3 separate regions of the Homo sapiens genome follow, and all the other regions are linked to region 2. Evidence: promoter capture Hi-C in 16 types of primary human blood cells and fetal thymus (Javierre and others, 2016). All regions are on one chromosome and are shown on one strand. Each heading gives the region's core, a stretch centred on a gene start or on the middle of the fragment in contact. The rest is flanking DNA. Distances are from core to core; before and after follow the strand shown.

The links. Contacts are between HindIII fragments. The CHiCAGO score rates a contact against its expected background, and 5 or more counts as called.
Region 1: a fragment that was not itself captured here is called in contact with the fragment with the promoter of NME5 in region 2 in 10 of 17 cell types (M2 macrophages, megakaryocytes, M1 macrophages and 7 more); the score reaches 10.1 in M2 macrophages.
Region 3: a contact is called between a fragment that was not itself captured here and the fragment with the promoter of NME5 in region 2, in 2 of 17 cell types (erythroblasts and M1 macrophages). The highest score is 5.5, in erythroblasts.

Annotation. Positions count from the first base shown.
Region 1 is chr5:138,035,399-138,039,888 of GRCh38, forward strand. It overlaps FAM13B-AS1 (FAM13B antisense RNA 1), which reads left to right. Exons shown (of 2, transcript NR_037900.2): 2 at 795-3,535. It also overlaps a transcript of FAM13B not described here. Among named protein-coding and RNA genes, the nearest start is that of FAM13B, 4.6 kb to the left of the region's middle. RefSeq lists an enhancer at 861-1,070. The HindIII fragment of the contact is 4,067 bases long and covers 1-3,487 here.
Region 2 is chr5:138,138,168-138,143,082 of GRCh38, forward strand. NME5 (NME/NM23 family member 5) reads right to left here and starts at 1,261. Exons shown (of 6, transcript NM_003551.3): 1 at 1,204-1,261; 2 at 485-618. The coding sequence starts at 613. BRD8 (bromodomain containing 8) reads right to left here. Exons shown (of 27, transcript NM_139199.2): 26 at 2,538-2,715; 27 at 1,603-1,999. The coding sequence ends at 1,907. The HindIII fragment of the contact is 15,003 bases long and covers 1-4,915 here.
Region 3 is chr5:138,053,884-138,058,305 of GRCh38, forward strand. No RefSeq gene overlaps it. Among named protein-coding and RNA genes, the nearest start is that of FAM13B, 23 kb to the left of the region's middle. The HindIII fragment of the contact is 1,758 bases long and covers 1,066-2,823 here.

The DNA.
Region 1 (4,490 bases), core at 204-2,703, 100 kb before region 2:
GCAGAACATATTCTTGGAAGATATATTCTCTAGATCCTACTTGATAATATAAAAACAGTATGTTCAACATAGGGGCCACATGGGCTATAATTCAAAACAAACACTTTTATTTTGTATCTTTTGCCATGCCTTTCAATTTGTGCAGTGGGAGTAGATCTGTCATGTACCTAATTGAAAACTCAGGCAGGTTCCATGAGTTTTTAGGGGTTCTGTGGTCTCCTTAGGAATAGAGTCCTGTTGTCATTGAGTCACAAAGAGTGAAATGTTTTCCTCTTTTTCAGCTGGGAACAGTTGTCTCATTGCTTGCCCTAAAGAGGGGACCATAGTCATCTTTAACCTGCCTAGTCTTTCTCCTCCCGGCTTAACTAATCATAACCAAATCTGGGGAAGGCAGGGAGAAAAAGGAGCAGGAAAGTTGTTAACTTTGTATGATGGTTTGACATTCCCTGGGCATGGTAGATGCTTAAAGCTGACTTATTTTTTCATGGATACCTCAGAGACTACCACCATCCCCCTTCTCTGGTGGTTTCTCCCCCATAATTCTATTGGTCTAAGCGTAAAGCTATTTTGGCAGTTATTTACTTCTTTCCACGCACCTCCAACTACTTGTCTGTTGAAACCTGGGCATCTCTGTAAAGGCCCTGTCAGATAGGATCTGAGATGACTCTCACACTCGTCCATTTGCAAGTGACCCTTTATTGTGGGACAAGGTTGTGCACTCCGTACCCTAGGGGGTGCCATTCACATCATTCTCACTGTAGTTCTGTATGTTATTTATTTTAATGTTTTTCCAGCAGGTGGCAGTAAAGTGTTTTGTCCAAACTAAATTACAACGACTGCTTCCCAATAGATGGAAGCAAAGCGTCTGGACGAAGGAGAGCTTTTTTCTCATGGTGCTGCTGTGTTAGCCTAGTGACAGCTCTGTATGGCCCACACCTGGTCCACAGGAAGCTCTCAGGCACCTCTTGCCCGAACAAACTTGGGAGTACAGGCTAATCCCAGTGCAGATTCAACATTCCTCTACTCTGCTGCCAAAACAGCCGCCAGCCTGTGGGAGTCAGACACAGGCCCACGGTGCCCCTCAGACTGCAGGAGGTACAAGTCAAGTGCTCTGAGCAGATCCATTGAAGGCCCACTCCCTCGACTTGAAGTAAAAGGCAGGCAGGCACCTGTGGTAAGAATCACAGCTCACCAGCAACAGTCTCCAAAGACATTGTCCTCAATAATTCTGGTTTGGCCTTTTATAACTAAATAACTGAGTATTTAATCTACCTGCTTTGTCTAAATCCTCTGAAATTTCTAGAGGGGGTCTATCTCAGAAATTACTTTAGTTTTTTGGTGGATGGAGGGAAGAAGATGGTTTCTTTTATAATAATCTTGTTGCTTCAGTTAAAACAGTGGTTCTCAACTGCGACAATTTTGGGGGACCATGTGTGCAGACATTTTTGGTTTTTTTTTAAACTTTTTTTTTCCTTCTGAATTCAGGATCTGCTGAATACAGACATTTTTGATTGTCACCACTGGAGAGGTGCTATTGGCTGGTGGGAGAAGGTCAAGGATGCTGGTAAACATCCTTTACGGCACAGGACAGCCCCTACAGCAAAGAACAGCAATTCTGTTTGTTACAGAGATGAGAGAATACCTCACTAAAAGAATACTTCAAAATTACATCACTTTTTCTTCTTTTTTTCCTACAAATTCTTTACCTGTAGATGGAAACGTCACATTTCAATATATCAATAGAGTCAAAAATAGCATTTGCAATAGCTATTTGGCCAGGATGAGAAGTGACTGGTATAGACCAATCCTTTGTGTTTCCAAGACTCCTTCTGGAGATGAGGCCATGCCAGGAAAATTACTACTTGAGATAAAATTGTTATTTATTTGCAAGATGACTTTTAAGCCTGGAAAACAAGCATTCTATCCCAGCTTATCTGAACAGAGGCATTATGCCTCTCAGAAGTAAGGTCATGAGTCACATCACTGTGGAAGGAATATATCTTTGCTACAACCTGGACTGCATTCTAGATGCCAGGGAGGACCTCAGCATATCTGCCTCCCCAAGGTCACCAGTGTCACTGGAATGAGACTTGAAGTCAGGAAGTAGCTGTCTCTGCAGTTACTTTACAGATGGCTAATAATGCCCTCATTATTCACAGAGAATGCAAATGGGTTCTTCCATCCTTTACATGAGTTTGACTGAATTCATCTCTTCCAGATGTAGCAGGATGTTGAGCCCTTCCCTTGCACCATCAGTAAGGAAACTTTTAATCAGGTGTTTTCCTTACCGTTACTGATCTCCCTGAGCAAGGCTGTTTGAGTACTGGGATATAGATTAACTTGAGTTCAGTCAAGGCTGCCTTGTCTTTCTTAATACGATGTTAATAAGAAACGAGCCACCCTAGCCAGAAAAGCCAAAAAGATATATTCTATCCCCACCAATTCTATCACTTAAAAGTAAAATAGATAAAACAAACATTCCAAGTTCCAGTTCTAGCCCTGTTACTAGCCTTTTGACTCTGGTCAAGTTACTTAACTTAGTTGTACCTTAGATTCCCCATTAGTCAAATAGGGAAACAGACTTAAATGAATTGGTATGCATAAAAGTGCTTTATTAGCCATATACAATTTTTTCAGTTCCCTCTCCTATACTGCATTCAGAGGCCTAGAGAACAACCTGAAAATGTCTTGCTTTCATATCTGGATTTATTGCCAGGAATGAGGCCCAGTGTGAACACCTTTCTTGACAGAAATTGCCAAATCTTTGTCTATCTATTTGTAAATGAAAACCAAGAACCACTAAGAATTCCCCCAAACTCTCGGTGCTGGTTTTAAGATCTTCTGAGCCTTGTAAGTTACAGTAAATACAAGCACATCTCTTCCCCAATTAGAAGCATATTTACACTGCCCATTTGTAGAACAAGACATGACTGTAAATACAGATAGGAAGCCATCATTACATGCAGTCTTGTGTGCAGGGAAAAACAAGTGCATATGGAGATGAGATTGTGACTACTCTTGATTCTCACAGAGCAGTAAAATGCTATCAAATTCAGTCAAACTCAGCTAATGAATTTTCTCCTTGAGGTAGTCTCCTCTACTGGGAAGAAAGGAAGAACTAAAAACACATCAAATTTAAATCCTCTGGTAAAAGAGAAGCAACTCACCATTAGAGAGATGTATTGCTGGCTCTTCCAAGAAATGGAGTGGAAATCTTTCTGTGCCACTTTGCCCAGGACCATTGTGCCAGTGTGCAAGAATGTGTGTTTTTCATAAACAGAAAAATATCACTAGCTGCAAAGAGAAGAAACTGTTCCAGGGTGTACAAATCCCACGCCAACCTCCAAAATAATGGCAAATACTGTTCTGATCTTAGCAACCCAGAATAACCTTTGTGCCATTTATTTATTCAACACATATTTCTTGGGCAGCTATTATGGGTCAGGCACTGTGCTAGGCGATATGATCATGATCTCTGCCCTGGAAAAGCTTCATCTTACATATCTCTGGAATAAAATATTTTGGTGGAATAGAACCAAAGTTAACATAATGTGGATTTCAGCTTCTATATTCACTCATATAGCCACTGGTGCCAGTCACATCCAGTTTGGAGAGCTGGAACAATTAACAGTAAGTCTCATCTTTGCCAAGTCCACATATTTGGCCTGATAACTCAGAATTCAGTGTATGACAATAATGTAGGCCAATACTATCATCAGCTATAAGACTAATTTGTTTTGGTTTCTTTATTAAATTCCTATAATCAGCTAGATATTTTTTCCACAATCAGAACTTTTATTGTTGAAAATAAATAAATAACAAAGAATAAATATCCCTTTCTCTTCTTCCCTCTGCCTGTATCCATATAGGGGAAAGAAAAAACTGCTCTGAGATTCAGTGAGATTATGACCTTCACAAAATCATGAACTTTCTGCTGCCTTTTTAACCAGAAATCTAGGCAGGAGGGTCTCACCATTTTGCATATCCTACCTGTTCCTTACAGGCTCTAGGCTTTTGAGCCTTCCTATCATTTGACCAGCCAAGTTGCTTCTCAGCACCTTTTTTTTCCCCTTTGAGTCAGGGTCTGGGTCCAGTGGCCCAATTATAGCTCACTGCAGCCTCAGTATCCCAGGCTCAAGCAATCCTCCCACCTCAGCCTCCCAAGTATCTGGGACTACAGGCATGTGCCACCATGCCCAGCTTTTTTTTTTTTTTTTCTTAGAGACGTATTATCACTACATTGCCCAGGGTGGCCTCTAACTCCTGGGCTCAAGAGATCCTCCCACCTCGGCCTCCCAAAGTGCTGGGATTACAGGCATGAGCCACCATGCCTAGCCTTCAGGCACCTTCCATTCAGACCACATTTTCTGTGGCAAACTGACAACGCCAATGTTTGCAGTTTGCAGTTTAACTACAGCTGTATTTTTTGCCAAACATTTACACCTAACTACTCTTTTCCACTAGAGTATATAACAATTTACAGAAGCATT
Region 2 (4,915 bases), core at 11-2,510:
TGAAAAAAGTACCAATAGCCTAAAATTCCATCAATAGAAGATCAAGTAAATAAATTGTAGTTCTAATACACAGGGAAATATTACACAGAAATTAGGAAGAGTGAGATCAATTCAGATGCAATGATCTGGAATCCTATCTGAGGGACTCTGTAAAGGGGTCAAGGGAAAGGGACTGTTCTGTTTTATGGGGGGAAAATGTTTATAAATGCATAGAAAACTCCTGGAAGAACAGAAAGTGTTAAGTGGTTGCCTCTCTCTGGAGCCTGGGACTTGGGGTAAAAGAGGACAGGTGAAGGAAAAGTCCATTTTATTTCTCATTTTACATCCTTTTAAAAACTATCACATATAACTTTTATACTTAGAAGAATAAACTTAAATTTAATGCTGAACACTAAGGGTTTAAATGGGTAGGCACATTTACATAAGCATTTTTTTTTTAAGGGCAGAGAGGAAAAAAGCATGAATCATCATACCCAGAAGTTACCTGAACAATGGTGAATCCGGATCTAAGAATAATATCTTGTATCTCCTCCTCTTTGTCAACAATATCTGGTTTGATAATGGCCAGAGTTTTTTCTACATATATCTGAGGTGGAGGCATTGATATCTCCATTATGGCTTTTCAGGGCACAAATTAAGAGTTTCTTAACAGGTATCAACTGCAATGACATGCATTTCCCCCCACCCCCATCGCAAATTCAATGTAATTATGATTAAGAATAGCAATAGTAGGTACTTGATTTTATTAACTGATGAAGGTAGAAACTGCCATGTTTTTCTATATACAGGGTCTCAATAATAGGATTCCTACTATGTCCAAATCGAGCCCCGGCTTTTCGTATACGATGTCACCAAGGCAGGAAGGACTATGGGCTCACATAACCAGAGGCCAAGGGGCGACCCGAAGGCCTGGAACCAGCAACAGCCCCAGGCAGCAGAGGGCGGTGGGGCGGGTGGTGGGGGCTCGAGGGGGCGGTAGAGCGGGTGGTGGGGGCTCGAGGGGACGGTGGCTGGTGGGCAACCACACACCATTACAGCGGCGGGTGAGCGGCCTCGGCCAGCTGCCTCTGTGAAGCGACCCTGTCCCGCAGGGACCTCTCTGTGCATAGGGTCAGGCTAATTGAAAAGCAGGGCCTCTAGGTCCGCGGGGACTTTCCGGGTTGCACCTGCAAATTCTGAATTTGACCCTCTCTAAGTACTCACCTCAGCGGCCGTCCTCATATGGTACAACTTGTTGCTAGGAGACCTGAAGCCCCAGCGTGGGGACGGTGGCTGCAGAGAGCCAATCCCAGCAAGGAACCTTGCAGCTTCTGGCCAGTTCGTTTTAACCAAAGGGAGCCAGCCAGTCACTTTTATTCTCCTTGTGAATCTTAGAGCACTAGATGTTTTCTGACATTTTACTCATAATTTATCTTATTTCATCCTTCTTCCCGTTTGAAGGATGCTTCAATTATCCCTACTCTATAAATGATAAGAACCCCTCCCCCAACCATTCCTTTCCAGGCGGTATATGTAAATGACCCGTGTCAGATACCTTCGTTTCACCAGATGATGCTGTGCCCTCTATGCCCAGCTTATCTAGTCATTAAAAAGCAATATTCCTATTGTGTAAATACATTTATTTATAGAGTAAAAGGCTTAGAAAAGATCTAATGGAATTGTCTTTAAATCAAGCCGATGGAACAAAGATGTGGGCAACATTTATGGCATAAATCCAAACCTCAGCTTCCCCTTTTTTTCTTTATATTATGTCCACATGCATCTTTGACTCGTTGGTTGTGAGTTAAGGTATTATTCTTGTTGGAAAAGAAAATGAGGACATGGCAAAGAAGTACCAGGATCCTCTCTAGGTCAGAGTTCCGGGAGAGATTCAAACTCTAGAAAAAGTCAGGATAGCAGCTCCAGGTTAGAAAACAGGTTTTCCATCATCCACTGGGTTAGCTGGTTCTCCTTCCAGACTACTTGAGCCTTTTCTTTTGTCTAACCAGATATTCAGTACCTAAAGGGTTAAGGAACACATAGCAAGCTATTATGAACCTTAAACACTAAAGTATTGCAAGTTTATTTTTTTGGCAAATAGACTCAACTATACTTTTTTCTTTAAAGTATGATGCTACCCAGAAAAGAAACCCACAAATGTCTTCTAGCTACTATATCTTATCCCCTAAAGATGGGAAAGTGTGAACGTACATTAATAACAACAGATGAAGCAACCAAAAAATACACAGTGACTCCAGCCTCTTTGGAGTTTAGCCCTTGACTTGAGGCTCTGGAAGCGGGAATTCCCATTACTTGTCTATCCTCAGCTCTCTTGAGAGCTCTTCACTGCTGCCTGCATTCCTAGACTACTTCACTATCAGAGCTGGACTTACTGAGGCTCAGGGTTTTCCAAACCAGCAGGCACATTATCAATCCTTCAGGGCCTTAATCACCTTTAAAAATAAACTCTGAGAACACAGTCACCTCGAAATCACCTTTATTCTCATAGGCGTTCTGAAATCAAGATTCCAGAGGCTACAGGTATCTGCATACAGTACCTGAATCTGCTCCAGGACTTCTTGCCGCATCTCCACAGCCATATGGTATACATGATGATCAGAGTCATTGTACATTACAGCATTTTGGAACATCAGCATCAGGTCTCGCAGGAATTGGGCCATGGTGCGAATCCGACCCTTAGAGAGATTTCTCTTCAGGCTAGTTAAGTCCATGGGTCTGCAGGTGGCCAAGAAAAAACAAAGAAAATCAAACCTTCATGTGGAACATATGATAACCTAACACGTTCTCTTGAAGAACTAACCAGTTCTTAATGAAAACAGTAGCAAAGATAACAACCCTCATCAGATAATAAAATAGCAACAGCAGTTAATATTTGCCTGTTTACAATGGGCCAAACACTGTATTTCTATACTAACTCACTTAATCCTCTCAATAAACCTGTAAGGTAGGTATCATTAATATCTCATTTTTTTTTTTTTTGAGTCGGAGTTTCACTCTTGTTGCCCAGGCCGGAGTGCAATGGAGCAATCTCAGCTCACTGCAACTTCCACCTTCCAGGTTCAAGCAATTCCCCTGTCTCAGCCTCCAGAATAGCTGGGATTACAGGCGTGCGCCATCATGCCCAGCTAATTTTTGTATTTTTAGTAGAGATAGGGTTTCACCATGTTGGTCAGGCTAGTCTCGAACTCCTAGCCTCAGGGGATCCACCTTCCTTGGCCTCCCAAAGTACTGGGATTACAAGTGTGAGCCACCGCCCCCGGCCTTATTATCTCCATTTCACAGATGAAGAAATTGAAATCTAAAGAGGTTAAGTACTCACTGAAAGGCACACAGCCTGAATTCCAATTCAGAGGCAGCCTGACTCCAGAGCCCACAGGTCAAGCCACTATATTCTACTATCAGAGGAGGAGTGCTGGCCCCAGGTATCAAAGTTGTAAAGAGCACCAATCATCAGTTTATCACACAGTAGTTATTTGCTGTTTACAATGTATAGTCATATATTATTTCATCTACTTCTCTTACTGCACAAATAAAAAGCTAAGAATAATTTTTTTCTCCTTTCATGGAGATGAAAAAAGGATCAAGTGAATATTAAGACAATATTAATGAGACACAGAAAGTAGATATATAAGAGAAGGCACAGCAGTGTAGAAAGAAGACTGAACTGCAGGTAAGAATCTGGGGCTTAGTTCTAGCTCTGCTATTAACTGTTGGTTGATCACGAGCAAGTCATGACCAAGCACCTCTGAGCTTTAGTTTCCTCATTCCTAAAGAAGTTTGTCTCTGCTGTTTGAATGATGGTATCATTGTCTCTGCTGTTTGAATGATGGTATCCCCTCCAAAATTCATGTTGAAACTTAATCCCAAGTGCAACAGTATTAAGAGGTGGAGCCTTTGGGAGGTAATTAATTCATGAGTGCTCTGCCTTCATGAATGGGATTAGCATCCTTATAAAAGGGCTCCATATCGAAGAGAGTGCCCTCTTATCCTTCTGTCCCTTCTGCCATGTGAGGATACAGCATTCGTCCCCTCTGCAGAATACAACAACAAGGCATCATCTTAGAAGCAGAAGCAGAGAGTAACCCACCTCACACACCAAAACTACCAATGCCTTGATCTTGCACTTCCCAGCCTCCAGAACCAAAACAAAGAAACATAGATTTCTATTATTTATAAATTATCCAGCCTGTGGTATTGTGCTATAGCAGCACAGACTAGTGACTCTCCAAAGGTCCTATCATGATCTTTTACATTCTATTACCATACAGGTTTATGACAGCATTTTAGATGACCTATGCTATAAAAACCCAAAATAGGCCGAGCACAGTGGTTCAAGCCTGTAATCCCAGCACTTTGGGAGGCCGAGGCAGGCGGATCACGAGGTCAAGAGATTGAGACCATCCTGGCCAACATAGTGAAACCCTGTCTCTACTAAAAATACAAAAATTAGCTGGGCGTGGTGACGTGTGCCTGTGGTTCCAGCTACTCAGGAGGCTGAGGCAGGAGAATCACTTGAACCCGGGAGGCGGAGGTTGCAGTGAGCCGAGATCTCATCACTGCACTCCAGCCTGGTGACAGAGCAAGACTGTCTCAAAAAAAAAAAAAAAAAAAAATCCAAAATAGGCTAGGATTACCTGCCTGTAATCCCAGCATTTTGGAAGGCTGAGGTGGGAGGATTGCTTGAGACTACGAGCTTAAGACCAACCTGGGCAATCTAGTGAGACCCCATATCTACAAAAAATTTAAAAATTCCTCCTCAGTGATATTCTGAAGAAAAATAAAGTTATTAATAACATTTCAAACAAAGAAAATATTTTATTATAATAAAAATATCAGGCCAGGCACAGTGGCTCACACCTGTAATCCCAGCACTTTGGGAGGCTGAGGTGGGTGAACTGCATGAGCCCAGGAGTCT
Region 3 (4,422 bases), core at 695-3,194, 84 kb before region 2:
ATAAATCTGTTCTAGGGAGGGTCAGATCCCTGTCAGTTGGGGGTGGGAGGGGTAGAGCGAGACCAGGATGGAAAGAAGACCTTTATCCTGTGGGTGGAGACCTGAATGGGGTTAGTTTCAGGATATCTCAGACAATATCATCAGAATCTTAAATGCCGTAGCCAACCTTTTAAACACTTAGAGTGAGCCTTTCACTTACAGATTCTTCCTTTGAATTCAGGGTGATTTTTTTTATTTTTAGACAGCTAAACTGGGTCACAGAAAAAGAGCTCCTTTCCCAGAATTACACAGAAAAATAGCATAAAATGTTATTCCCTTCGACTCCCAGAATCTCCTTCTGTGAAGTTCAACCATGAAAAGCAGGACTGATGCTTCCAGCTAAATTTTGTTTCAAATTGGTTTGATCATCTACTCTACAGAGCAACCCAGGCAGCCCATTCACCTCTGCAATGCTGTCTCCCTCAGCTCTCAGAGCCCACAGAATCTGTTCTGCTTCAGTTCTCTCTTAGAAGCCTCTACTAATTTTCCCCCACGTGGTTGTAAAGTCCTATTCATGTGTACAATGTCCACTTCTTCTTTATAAGTCAGACCTGAAAAACTTCAGAGAGTTCAACCATACTGAATATACCCTGTTGCTTCTTTGTTGTCTAATTCTCAAACGTGTAAAAAGAAGCATGAGTTTACGGCCAAAAATCAGGCTGGTTGTCAGAGACAAGCACTTGTCTATTATCCCCACTTCATCCACAATTACTTCATCCTCCCAGCCTCAGTTTCCCTGTTTACACACAGCCTAGAATCTGGTGCTTTCTCCCTCCTTGCCAGGAAGTTGATACAGATCTTGATGTAAAAGCAGGGCAAAAAGAGAGAGAGAAAAAAAAGCAGGGCCGAGGGCTCTCCAAGTTCTTTCAGAGACATAGTAAACAGTTGTTTGCTTGTCAAAGGACCTATATGGGCCACTACAGTGCAGACAACACAATTTCCCACAATGGAGGTAAGCAAAATAAAAGACCATGGACAGAGGAAAGATGACTGGAAGGAAGCCCCAGTTTTCCTTATCACCCCTCAAGCTTTGTAGGGGAGGTATAGAGGCAGTCAGCCTGACTCACAGCCAGCGCTACTGCTCCCCGGCCAAAGAGGGTTCAGAAGCGAAGGGCTGCTGGATTCAAAGGTCCTAGGCTGACAAACGTAATGGGATGTATTCATCCGAGGACTGGCAGGCTTTCCTTTCAGCTCCGGCTCCTCAGGGTATAAGTCAACTTCCTCTCACTCGTTCTCATTCCTGAGAACCCTGGGAGCTGACAGACGAATGGGGATAAGGGCCAGACTAGGAGATGCCCTTACAGCCCCAGGTAGAAGAACTGGTTCAAGATGCAGGACATCTGAGAAGAGGAAACAGATTTCCCCCCGTGGCTCCAAGCATTTCTGTAAGCACCACCTGTACCTGTCACGAGGAAAAAGCTCCTATTAGCCCTAAAACTAGCCCTCTCCACTTCCCAGCCTCTGAGAGAACGCCAAGTAATGAGAAGGGAAACCAATGAAACATGGGCTGAAAGCATTACCTCATCAGAGTGAACCCCCATTGGCTGCAATGACTCTGGACGAGGCTTGCACGCTAGTAAATTAACCCTTGTCAGGAACATAGACCTCCATGTGGGACCCCTTCCCTCCCCTACTGCTCCTTGTTTTCAAATTAGGAAAAGGGGTAGATGGGGAACAATAGACCTTTCCCTAACATTTTTCTTAGGCATAGGTAGCTATACAATGGTTATGAGGAAGTTTGTATCTCCTCTCCCCAAAATTGTTCAGTGCCTTTTGAACCAAAATGGAGCCACCTGCAACAGACTGATAAATATGGGTTACGTAGGAAGAGGCAGAGTGAATTATCAGTCGTTTTCTAAACCTACCTACCATGGAATTGTCAGAGGGGCAAAGACCAAAAAGAATAATAAAAATTAAAACACCTTGGGAAAGATTGGCAATAAATTGATCTTGTTTTTTGCAACTTATTTTTTAAGGTTATCCTCATAGGTACAGCCTCTATTTTTAATGCAAACTGCCAAAAGATATGCTAATTTTTTAAAAAAGGCAAATAGCAGACAAAAGTTTGAATTTATTACTTGAATTGCTTCATGAATAAAGTGTTCAATAAACCTGTCTTCCTACTATCAAAACTCTGTATTTGACAGAACCAAGACAAAAGATTGTTGTATGCTTCAAAAACTATGCGGCAGGCATGGTGGCTTACACCTGTAATCCCAACACTTTGGGAGTCCAGGACTGGAAGATCGCTTGAACTCAGGAGTTCGAGACCAGCCTGGGCAACATGGCAAAACTCTGTCTCTACAAAAAATACAAAACAATTCGCTGTGTGTGGTGGCACACACCTGTAGTCCCAGCTACCCGGGAGGCTGAGGTAGGAGGATCACCTGAGGCCAGGAAATTGAGGCTACAGTGAGCTGTGACTGCCCCACTGCACTCCAACCTGGGTGACAGAGTGAGACCCTTTCTATTAAAAAAAAAAAAAATTGCACTTGGTGACTAAAGTCAAGGGAGAGAAGACATCTAAGACTGACTTGATTCCCTCAAGTAAAAGTTATTAGCTCTGAGCTAAGAGCTAATTTGCAAACAAGGCGTGAAGATAACTGTAGTTGTGAATACTGAGAGCTGAGTATTTGAGAAAGAGGTCCTATGCCCATACTATAGGCAGAGGCTTTCTGGGAACATTATTATGTCTTTTATTCTAAATTGATTTAAACTTAAAATTGACCAAAATATTGTGGGGTGGTGGGGGTTGTGGTTTGTTGTTGGTGGTGATTTTTTAAAAGCTTAAAAGCACCGTTGTTTTTTTTTTTTTTGAAATGGAGTTTTGCTCTTGTTGATCAGGGTGGAGTGCAATGGCACAACCTCAGCTCACTGCAACCACCACTTCCTAGGTTCAATAGATTCTCCTGCCTCAGCCTCCCAAGTAGCTGGAATTACAGGCGCCCACCACCACACCCGGCTATTTTTTTGTATTTTTATAGTAGACATGGGGTTTCACCATGTTGGCCAGGCTGGTCTCAAACTCCTGACCAAAGATTTGTTTGTTTTTTTTTTTGAGATGGAGTCTCGCTCTGTCGCCCAGGCTGGAGTGCAGTGGCATGATCTCGGCTCACTGCAAGCTCTGCCTCCCAGCTTCACGCCATTCTCCTGCCTCAGCCTCCTGAGTAGCTGGGACTACAGGCGCCCACCACCATGCCCGGCTAATTTTTTTTGTATTCTTAGTAGAGACGGGGTTTCACCGTGTTAGCCAGGCTGGTCTCAATCTCCTGACCTTGTGATCCGCCCGCCTCTGCCTCCCAAAGTGCTGAGATTACAGGCGTAAGCCACCGCACCCGGCCTGTTTTGTTTTTTAGTGAAGTACAGTAAGTCCTCACTTAACATCAGTGATAGTTTCTTGGAAACTGTGACTTTAAGTGAAATGATGTATAACAAAACCAATTTTACCACAGGCTAATTGGTATAAACAAGAGTTAAGGCTGGGCACTTTGGCTCATGCCTGTAATCCCAACACTTTGGGAGGCTGAGGCTGTAAGATCACTTGAGCCCAGGAGTTGAAGACCAGCCTGGGCAACATAGTGAAACCCCAGCTCTACAAAAAATTAGCCAGGCATGATGGTGCACACCTATAGCACCAGCTACTTCAGAGGCTGAGGTGGGAGGATTGCTTGAGCCTGGGAGGTCAAGGCTGCAGTGAGCCATGATTGCGCTACTGCACTGAAGCCTGGGTGTAAGAGGAAGAACCTGTCTAAAAAAAAACAAAAAAGAGGTAAGTTCCTGTGGCATATTTCTTGTCACAAAAACATCACCAAACTTCGAAATAAAGACCAAAACACTTTTAATATAAAAAATTAAGATAGGCTGGGCATGGTGGCTCATGCCTGTAATCCCAGCACTTTGGGAGGCCAAGGCAGGTGGATCACTTGAGGTCAGGAGTTCAAGACCAGCCTGGCCAACATGGAGAAACCCCATCTCCACTAAAAATACAGAAATTAGCAGGGCGTGATGGTGCATGCCTGTAATCCCAGCTACTCGGGAGGCTGAGGCAGGAGAATGAGGCAGAGGTTGCAGTGAGCTGAGATCACTGCATTCCAGCCTGGGTGACTGAGAAAGACTCCATCTCAAAAAAAAAAAAAAAAGGAAGAAAAAGAAAATTTAAGATAGATATGAGCTCTACCTACATTTAAGAAAGACTCATCAAAACAAGTGAGATAATTATTACCCAGTTATTCCAGTTCAAGGTCTTGAGTAGCCAGAGCCTATCCTGGCAGCTCAGGGCACCAGGCAGGAACCAGCTCGGGACAGGATGCCATCCTGTTGCAGGGTACATTCACACACATGCTGATACTCACGCAGACTGGGTCTATGAACCTAACAGGCATG